Linked DNA regions of Homo sapiens: region 2 is linked to region 1. Evidence: promoter capture Hi-C in 16 types of primary human blood cells and fetal thymus (Javierre and others, 2016). All regions are on one chromosome and are shown on one strand. The core of a region is centred on a gene start or on the middle of the fragment in contact, and the rest is flanking DNA. Distances in the headings are between cores, read along the strand shown.

Region 1 (5,303 bases), core at 284-2,783:
GAAAAAAAGAAAAAGAAAATGACCAGCTTGAGAAAACTGGCTTCTGTTAAGGCTTCTTGAAGCATTCTCTGCAGAAGACTTTAACCCCAAAGGTGACCAAAACGCTGAGGCAACTGAAAAAAACTACCGCCTCTTCTGGGAAATCCTTTGTTTCTTTTCATTGGCATTATACTCTGGTCCCTTTTGCAGAGCATCTCCTTGTCATAAACATGCCAATAAACAGGACATGGGTGCTGCTGGGTTGTACAAGCTCTGCTCTTCACCTGGGTTAGGAGGCACAGATTTGTTCTTGTAACGCTCGAGAACAATCACTTCACTGAATTTTCTAACTCCTTACCAGGAAGTAAATGTTTTATTCGTCTCCCCTTTTCGGGACAGAGGGGGATTTCAATTGCTGCCCTAATAACTAATCTCTCACCATTTTCTTCTGTCCGTGATCAAAACGGTAACAAGGGAAGGGAAAAGTTGGGTTTTTTTTTTTAATTTAGTTGGTTATTGCTTTAATGCTGAACTCTCAACGTCAAAATGTGATCACAAATTGATTCGCAGAAGGAAACAAATAGAAAAAGCCTCGGGAAGGAGGGGAGAGGGCGTCGCAGACGCTCAACAGGGAACTGGGTTTAGGGGCTCGCGGGGTGGCGTCTCGGACCCGCAGCTCAGTCGCCAAGGAAACGCCGCGCAGGCGCAGAGCGTGCCGCCGCGGGGCCGGGGTTTGCCTCCACCACCCCGCGCCGCTCGGGCGCTCTTGGTTCTTCCCAGGAAAGGGCAATGGAGTATATCCTCCTCGCGCTGAGCACACCTAGTCTCTAAGAGGTCCTGAGCAGGGTCACCGGGCGCAGGAAAAGCTGTGAGACTCCCCAAGTGTAACGGACGCTGCACTCCCCTTGCTGGGAAACGCGGACCTGCTCTCCTGGCGGCGTCTGGCGGTCAGAGAGAGGGTCCCGGGACCCCGCGTGAGGGTGAAGCATCCTGCAGCGAGGCTGGACCTTCCACCGGGCGAAACGCCACCCACCACCACCGCAAGGGACCCGAGAGTTACATTATTTCGCGGACACACACACCCACCCTCATCCTTCTGAATTATGGGACCCTGAAGAGCGGCCGTGGCCAGTTCCCCGCACGGGGCCTTAGGGGATCCCCACGCACAGCACTCACAGTCCTAAACAGGCGTGTGCCGGCTGTGGCTGCCGAGAAAGGAACTTGGGCCACCTGCTCACTCGCTCATCGGACTGGCGTACCAGTTCTCTTTTTCCTGCACACCCCCTTCTCTCCTGGGCCCCTTCTTCCCCCGAAAGCACTGACCTCCTCAGCTTTGAGTGTTCAGTAGCTGAAGGACTCCTCGGAGTCCGTGGCACAAGGAGCCACCTCCGAAGTGCTGGGGTGATGAGTTATTGGCCCCTGTGACTCCAACTCCAAACCCCTGCCAAGGGCCAGAAAAGCCCCCCTAGAAGAGCACTTCTCCCCACTAGCCAGCAGAAGCCCCAGACGAGCGGGGAAGAGCAGGGCGCCGCCGCCACAACCTGCTTTCTCATTCAAATCCTCACGCTCACACAGGAGCCCCCCTCCCTCTCGGCCCCGCAGCTTCCGAGGAAATCAGGAACTGGAGTTGCGGAGAGCGGACTGGAGCGCCTGCTGCCTCCTCTGGCCCGGGCGGGATGGGTGTACGGAACCCTAGGGCTGCACGTGGAACCCCAAGGCTGCACCTGGAACCCTTGGCTTACACTCTCCTGCGGGGCTCCCCGCTTGGCAAGGGCCAGAAGCACTGGGAATGAAGTACTTTTACTCCCCCGCAAGTTTCAAAAGTTTCGAAACCCAGGGTAACCCCTCGGGGCTGTAGCCAGAGGGCCTCGGTGGTGGGGGGTAAAGGAGTTGGAGAAACAAAGTTGGAAGTGAAGGGCGCAGGGAATGGGAACTGCGTGCAACTTGCACCAAAGTGAAAAGTGTTCTCAAACGTCCGTCTTACCTCCTTTAAAAAAAAAAAATTTCTAAGAATATAGCATCTGTCGATGCCGCAAATTAAAGAGATCTACTCTGAGTGAATGGGAACTGCGTGCAACTTGCACCAAAGTAAAAAGTGTTCTCAAACGCCCGTCTTACCTCCTTTAAAAAAAAAAAATTTCTAAGAATATAGCATCTGTCGATGCCGCAAATTAAAGAGATCTACTCTGAGTGAAGTGCAACTAAAATTGAGAGCGTGTAAATGGTAACACTTTGCTTTTATTTACCCCCAGTCTCTTCATTTGGAAATGCTACTCCTTGGCATTAACAGGCCACTTATTCACTTAGATCCGTTTAGTGGCTGGTTGACTCAAGCGGGCAACCTGCCGGGAGTAAGAAGGCGGCGGTGGCAGAGGAAAGCTTGCACGAAGCAGGCACTCAAGTGTTGATGAAACGATGAAATCTACTGAATGCACTGAAAGGATGAGTGACCAGCTTGGGGCGGATGCTGGAACCGCCGCTGGCCTAGACGGCCGCGGTGTGATCCGGCTTCTGGATTCCAGGATTTACATTTATCAGCCTTCATTCAACCTGCCCTATTGTTAGTTCAAAGCCTGGCTGGGAAGGAGTGGGGACGCAGCTCTTCACTCACCTTTCAGTTTAAAATAATCCTCCAATAAGAATGTCCTAGGAAAGCTGGCAGCATGGGGTTGGCAGGGATTTTCTGGGCTTAGTGACAACATAAACTAAAGTCATTTTCTTTTTTCATGCGTGAATTTGCCCAGGAAGTTACAAACGAGTAAGTTACAAATGAGTGCCTGAGATTGGAGCTCAGGGCCTTGGCTGCCTGTTCTCTTTGACAGACAGTGTGGAGGGTGGTAGCACTGTGACCTCTCAGCGCAAGATCTAGGGTTTCACCTTTTCATCCCACTTAGCCGATACCATAGAAACAACCCATTTGTATTATTCAATTCAACAGAGGCAATTACAATGTCACAGCAAAGCACCATGGGCAAGAAGAAACTTTGTCCTGAAAACAATCCTAGACTCTCAGAAAAAAGAAAAAAGCCACCAGAATACCCACTTGAATTTCTTCCTGCCAATAGTACCAGGAAGAAATCAATTTGGAAAAAATGTAGGTAAGGTCCTTTGCCTCTATAGAAAGAAACCTCCCCAAATTTACTTGTTTTTGTTTTTGTTTTTTTGCATGCCCATACACAAGCCTCAATTTATAAGAAATTAAGTCATTAACCCTCTGCCTCCAAACTGCTTTATATTTTGTAAACAAGCTTGTTGGAGATTTGTTTTGCTGGTAACCTCCATGGTGAATAGAAAAGCCAAAAAAAAAAAAAAAAAAAAAAAAACCACCAAGATAATCCCTCAACAGCAGCAGTTCACCCCCTAACCTCCGGTGTTTGTCTTTCTTGAGTCTGAAAAAATGCAGATGCACATGTTGAAATAAACTCAGACACAAAGTTCATAATAAGAGCACTTGTTTGCTATGCATTCTTTATTTTGATAGTTTTAATCAACTCCCATAATTTTGTAAACTTTTAAATTTTTAAATTGTGTGATATTTCAAACCTACCAAAAACAGGATATATACCATGTAATACTCCTGCTCCCCCCAGCCCTTCTTTTTTAAATAAAGCATTACAGATATAGCTAAACCCCAACTCCTGACTCGTTACCCCCACCCCTTCCCAAAGGTAATAATTCTGAAGTTGGTATGAATCATAATTATGCATGTTCTTAAATGTTTAGGACATTTATACATCCATAATCTTTTAATGTAGCTTTTCTCTCCAAGTCGTTTTAACATTATTTATCTGAGAAAAATCACTAAAACAATTAATTAATTAATTGGAGAAAATCACTAAAAACAAGAAAATGTGTTACATTGCTAAGTTTTTAGAAGCAGGACAGAACTATTTTTCCTGCTTGTGACAATCAGAGTATGGAATAATAACAAAGGGATTAGACAGTGGGTAATAAGCAGCCTCTCTAGGTTACACAAACTCTTCCATGGTTACCAAAGAATAAATAGAAAAACAAAACAAATAATACCCTCCTCTTTCACTGGTTAAAGGGGAACTGGAGAAAATGAGATCTTCATTAAAACTTCTTTGGGCAGGTAAGACAAACATCCTACATGGTAGTAAAGTACCTTTTCTAGAGGATCTCTTGGTCATGCAAGCTATGATCTTTTAGTAAGGATTTACCACTTTTCCAAGTATAAAGAACTCCTGCTGGTAGCTCAATACAAGGTTGAAATCCGCCTGGCTGAAAAGTCTGGGGTTGAATTAGCCCTGCCTCTTCAAGCACAGGGACATCCATCTGTACAGTAGTTACAAAAATCTTTTGCTGTGATTCTTTGACTTAATGTCCTCCCAGCATTAAAAGTGCTAAGAAAGCATCAATTTTTCTTAAATGCCATTGAATGGTGAAAGGCATCCTTCCCAACCCCCACCCTCTTCATTTCCTAAGCGATGACTCTCATTAATTATACTGGCACACCACTGCCCAGCCTCCCTTCTAAATAGCTGCCAGATTTCTACATATCATCTCTGCCTTGATACAGAATGTGCACTGACACCAGGATCACAGAAAATCCTGTAAGAGGTGCCTGATACACAGTAAAATGATTGATGTGCCTTGTGGTGAGCCTGCTGTGCTGCGTATCGTAGGGGGTTTCTTAGAAAACTGCACTGGGAATTTCTGTGTTGGAAAAAGATTTTTCTAGCTGTGCAAAAATTGTGCTTCCAGTTGCAAAAAGAGCCATTTATTTAAGGTGTTCAAATTTAAACAGCAACCATCTTGAGTTATATCCACGAGCAAGAGAGGAAAGGAGATAAATGTTCCCTATTTTAATCAATGCACCAAGTTAAGAAAACCATTGACCAAAAAAGCGTATCAAGGAAGAGGCACTCCTCTTTCAACACATATTTCTTTAGTACTTGCCATGTACCAGGCACTGCTCTAGGTGGTAAGCCTTAGCTGGAATATAGATAGCACTCCTGAAGTAGAGCGTAGTACCTGTCTTTATGGCCCTACTCTACAAATTGGTCACGGCTTTTAGGTACAAATAACAAAACCCCTTATCAAACCAGCTTGAGTAAAAAAAGCTGATGTATTGACTCCCACTTTAAGATAGGGGGAAGGATAAGGACTTCAGAAACGGTGGGAGTCTAGCAATTCAGAATCAGCATTTCTCTTGTTAAAGAAAAAATTAGTCAGTGTTAAAGCATGGTAAGGAAGGCTTTATCCAGCACGATCGAAATCGGCACAGGGACTACTGCAAGGAGCTCATGCAGAATACAGCATAGGCAGCTTGGAATTTATAGACAAAGAACAGATGGGGTTGC
Region 2 (5,303 bases), core at 782-3,281, 990 kb before region 1:
AACAACCTGTTTAAAAAGATCATCATGACCAAGTGGGATTTATCTCAGGGATAGAAGGGTGATTCAACACAAACAAATCAATCACTGCTTTCATGCTACAACAGCGGAGCTTAATTTTTTGCGACAGAGACCACGTGGCCTGTAAGTCCCAAAATATTTGCTAACGGCCAGGCGTGGTGGCTCACGCCTGTAATCCCAGCACTTTGGGAGGCCGAGGCAGGAGGATCACGAGGTCAGGATATCCAGACCATCCTGGCTAACGCGGTGAAAACCCGTCTCTACTAAAAATACAAAAAAATTAGCCGGCCTAGTGGCAGACGCCTGTAGTCCCAGCTACTCAGGAGGCTGAGGCAGGAGAATGACGTGAACCCGGGAGGCGGAGCTTGCAGTAAGCCGAGATTGCGCCACTGCACTCCAGCCTGGGCGACAGAGCAAGACTCCGTCTCAAAACAAAACAAAACAAAACAAAAAAATTTGCTAACTAGTGTTTTCCAGCAAAAATTAAAAACTACTGTTCTACATCATACCAACCATAGCCAAACTTCAGGAGTTCCAGTGAGGAGTTCATTCTTCAACAGCTGTCTGATGTTTTACATTGCTAAAGTTACACAATTCAGTTTTCATCCTCAGTGATATCAAAGAAAGCAACTGGATATTTAAAGTGCTGATTTAAATAGTGATATTTATGTCTGTGTACAGAAATTAGCATTTAAAAATCATATCTTTCTATTGAATCATAAGCTTCTTTATTGGATTTAAAAAAAAAAAAACGTAAACTGATTTTTATTGAACATACCAGAGTGCATTTATATTTCTGGGCCTGGCTTTCCCAGTGAGCAAAGAGAACAAGTTGAACACCAGGGTCACTCCCCGTATTGACATGTTTAAAAGAGCATTAAACTAAGAAAGACTATTAACAAATGACTTGGAAGGTTATTAGAATTTTTATCCTCTATAATAAAAGTCGATCTTCTCAAGTGTTTATTTTGAGATTCAATTTCAAAGGGTTTTATATAAATAATCTAGAAAGCCGGTTCGTTTCTTGCTGGAAACATTATTGTTATCACTAGAGGGAGCTGGTTTTACATAAAATTAATGTATGTAGGCCTGTATCTAGAAAAAGACAGAAAAGCACTTTGTGGTTCATGTTAAGAAAAAGAACAAAATCCTTTTCAAAATATTTTTTCTGCTAATAAATTGTACTTGTCAAGGAATTATAAACTGAAAGTTTGCTTCAAAATACTGTAATCTCTGTTCCCAAGAGAATTTTTGATACTCTAAATGTGATAGTGGAATAAACATTCTATGGGGGTATCACTTAATTTTCATATAGTAGTATTGATGTCTGTAGTCTTTTCATTGTTCTTTAAATTTATCCTACTTTAATTTTCTTTAAATTTATCCTACTTTAATTTTCTTTAAAATGGAATTTTGTCATTGTATAGTTTGAACAATATGCTAAGCAGAGTTGCAGAGTACAGAATAAGATTTTGGCTAAATTGTCTATCTATTTAATATAAAAGATATAAACATTCTGGTGTTACTTTGAAATGCCTGATTTTCAGTGAGTGCTAAAATGAAAAGAACCATTAAGTATTTGCTTTAACTTAAATACTTTCTTACATGTAAGTACTATTGTATTGATAACTGTCTCAAATTTATGTAAGTAAATTTACATAAATGTACGTAGGTCACATGCAGAGTAAACTTACGTAAGAACCAGATATTCAGCCAATAGCCAATAGCTTTGGCTAACTGGGAACTTACTAAATTCACTGTGTTTCCTTGAGACTTTTTATTTGGAACTCTAACTACTAAGTTTTAAAATAGGGCTAATTCATCTCTCTACGCTTTCTCTGATGCATGGATATCAATGCTTATAAATTATTTATAAATCTCCTTTCAAGTTGAGCAAACCTCTAATTTCAAAACAGGATTGAAATTGATAGAACATGTTTGACCAGGTGAATGGAGTTTTAATCGGTAAATTATTTCAGACAGTGAGGAACCGGCCTTTGTTAACTCATTGACCCATTTAAACCTCTGCCCACCACACACACACAAATTCTTCTTGCCAAATTCAATGATCTACATCAATTTTTAAAAAATTCAGATTATGCCCTTGCTTGATAGCATTTTTATGCTACTAAACGAAAAGATGTTTGGCATTTCTTTTATGTCATAACTTTTCACCTTTAGTCAAGTTTTTAAATTCATAATCTTGAGTAAATATCTGTGTAGCTGTTCTTGAATCAACCAAAGAAAAATAAAAATATTACTGTCTAAGTTAACGAATGTTCATTAGTTGCTCATTAATTATAATTGGACCTACCAATAATGAAGTAGAAAAAAGGGTAAGGATTTGATTTAAAAGACAGTTGTTTTTCTTTCAAAGAAAGAACCAACTGGAAAACAAAACAAATCTGACGATGGCTTTTGTTTCTTACCTATTCTGGTCTCAGTAACCAGTGGTAAACAATGAGGTTTGTTGTTGTGTCTGCTAAGAAGAATATGAACAGATATTACAAGCCACAGTAAATTGTTCAGTGGGTTTTCTCTGTAGAACTTGTTGATTTGAATCATAATGGGGTTTCAAGCAACTTGATAAACCTTTGTCAAGATTTTTAAGTGGAAGAAAAAAAATGATGAAATGTACAACTTGTAGAATTTGTTTTTCCTAGTGTGGTCCCAAATGGCGCCATCCTTTCACTCTCCCAGTGTGCTCTAATGAAGAAGGGACATAGAGGTCATTGAGGTCAACGGCGAATCAGCAAGAGCTGACAAGATGTGATTCTTGGCACTTAGAATGGCTAAATGCCACCAACCCCTCCAGACTATTTTCCAAATATTTTGCATTTTACAAAGACCAAAGACTTTGACCAAACTGTTTCTCTCTCCACTCCATTTTTAGCTCTAAATTTATACTTATAAAGCAAACTCAAACCAGGACTTCTGAATAACACGTTGTTAAGCAGTTTGAAGTGGTATGGAACCTATCCTCAAATTATGTGTAGGCCTCTCAGCCCTTAGAACTGGAAGCTGGGAAGTTGATCACTATTTTCACCTTCTAGTTGGGAGACAGTGAGGTTAAGGAGACCCAACCAAGTTAAATTCAGGCTTTTTTTTAACTTGTTGTCCCTGAATGGAGTTTTGGAGGTCTTTGAAATCTTAGAAATGCTATGTAAATTTTTATGTTATGTATATGTGTGGATATTGCTGGTATATAATGTTCATGATTTTACCAGAGTCTCAAAGGGTCCACAAAAACTTAATATGTTGAAAGCAATTAAAAAAAAACAAAAAAATTATCTTCTGGAAAATGTAAGCTTCTCCACTTAATCTTCACAGCAATTCTGTAGATTGGCTGTTACAGCCAATGGTTAATACAGATTCTAGAAACAGGCTGCCAAGATTCCAATTTCAGTTCTGCCACTTATTAGCTGTATGAACTGACTTTTTGTACCTCAGTTTCCTCATATGCAAAATGAAATAATAGTAGTACCTATTCCATAGGGTTATTATGAGGAATAAATGAGGTAATATTTGTAAAGTACCTATTCCTTGCTGCAAGATAAATGGTGAGTGTATATGTGTGTGTGTGTGTGTGTGTGTGTGTGTCAAAAACACTAAATATTAATCCCCAGGGTTTAGACGATGAAACTATGTTAAGAGATTTGCCTAAAATCACATTGCTTGTAAGAGGAAGAAATAGGTCTAAAATTCAGAGGGGTTGTTTTGTTTTCTTTTGTTTCCATTTAAATCCTGCTAATCATTGGCCCTAATCAGTTCTGTGTGTGTGGTCTCTTAGCTTCCATTTCCTCTCTATTCCACCACCCCACCCTGCCCAATGTTGTCCTTTTTTTTTTTTTTTAGAGATGGAGTCTTGCTCTGTTGCCCAGGCTGGAGTGCAGTGGCATGATCTCAGCTCACTGCAACCTCCGCCTCCCAGGTTCTAGCAATTCTCCTGCCTCAGCCTCCCAAGTAGCTGGGACTATAGGCACCCGCTGCCATGCCCAGCTATTTTTTGTATTTCAGTAGAGATGGGGTTTCACCGTGTTGCCCAGGCTGGTCTTGAACTCGTGAGCTCAGGCAATCCACCCACCTCAGCCGCCCAAAGTGCTAGGATTACAGGCGTGAGCCACCATGCCTGGCCCCAATGTTGTACTTTTAAAATCATTTTATATGCATCTTCCACCGCACTTTGCTCTCAAAACTTCAAAATCTCCCCGTTATCTGGTTTGAATCAAACTTTAATTTAAAACAAGGAATTGTTGGAGCACTAATCTATGAGAGGTGGTGAATTACTAATGCCGTATTAAAATAAAATTTATTTACCCAAACTGCTCTCCTAGAGAGTAATTTAAAATGAGATAGAGAGAAGTTCACCCACTCCTTCCCTCCTACTGCATGTGCAGTCACACACACACACACAAACACACATACACACATACACACACACAGACACACACACACACCCCTCAGACAAACTCAAATCGAATTGCTCCGGCTAATTTTAGTGCTTTTCTTTTGGTAAAAAGAGTATCTAAATTTGCGGCAAATTCAATTGTTCTGGACAAGAGAGGAGAGATTGATCCCTATCACCTAATATATAGGGCTTCTTTGTCCCTTCTCTACAGAGCAGTTAAGCTGCAAGACCCTGAAATTATTGACCAAATACTAAAAGAACAAATATTTGAAGGGGCACCAATTATTAACCTACCCAACATGACCAGCTTAGAATCCTTCCTGAGTACCCTCAAGTTTTCATCTAGCCCCGATTCAGATCACAGGTTATAAAACCTTTACTATACAATTCTGTCTCACTTGGAGTACCTCATTACCTGGAATAGAAGTCATGTCAGTGGCTGGGCGCAGTGGCTCATGCCTGTAATCCCACCATTTTGGGAGGCCAAGGTGGGTGGATCACAAGGTCAGGAGTTCAAGACCAGCCTGACCAATGTGGTGAAACCCCTTCTCTACTAAAGATACAAAAATTAGCGGGGTGTGGTGGCGTGTGCCTGTAATCCCAGCTACTGGGGAGGCTGAGGCAGGAGAATCATTTGAACCCTGGAGGTGGAGGTTGCAGTGAGCCGTAATCACACCACTGCATTCCAGGCTGGGTGACAGGGCGAGACTGTCTCAAAAAAAAAAAAAAAAAAAAAAAAAAGCAAGTCATGTCAGCATTTCAGTCCATTAGGTTCTTTATGTCTCCTAGTCCTCATTCTTCCTCATCCAAGTTATCACAAATGAGGAGAATGGGTTTCTTTTCTATGACTACCAAATGCATTACGTAGTAGTGGAAA

What was found. The method cuts DNA at HindIII sites, captures the fragments that hold promoters and counts their contacts. A CHiCAGO score of 5 or more calls a contact.
Region 2: a fragment that was not itself captured here is called in contact with the fragment with the promoter of PLCH1 in region 1 in 1 of 17 cell types (M2 macrophages); the score reaches 5.4 in M2 macrophages.

Annotation. Positions count from the first base shown.
Region 1 is chr3:155,743,538-155,748,840 of GRCh38, forward strand. PLCH1 (phospholipase C eta 1) reads right to left here and starts at 1,534. Exons shown (of 23, transcript NM_014996.4): 1 at 1,303-1,534. RefSeq lists enhancers at 771-1,392, 1,287-1,496. The HindIII fragment of the contact is 4,475 bases long and covers 1-2,356 here.
Region 2 is chr3:154,757,404-154,762,706 of GRCh38, forward strand. No RefSeq gene overlaps it. Among named protein-coding and RNA genes, the nearest start is that of MME, 320 kb to the right of the region's middle. The HindIII fragment of the contact is 2,585 bases long and covers 740-3,324 here.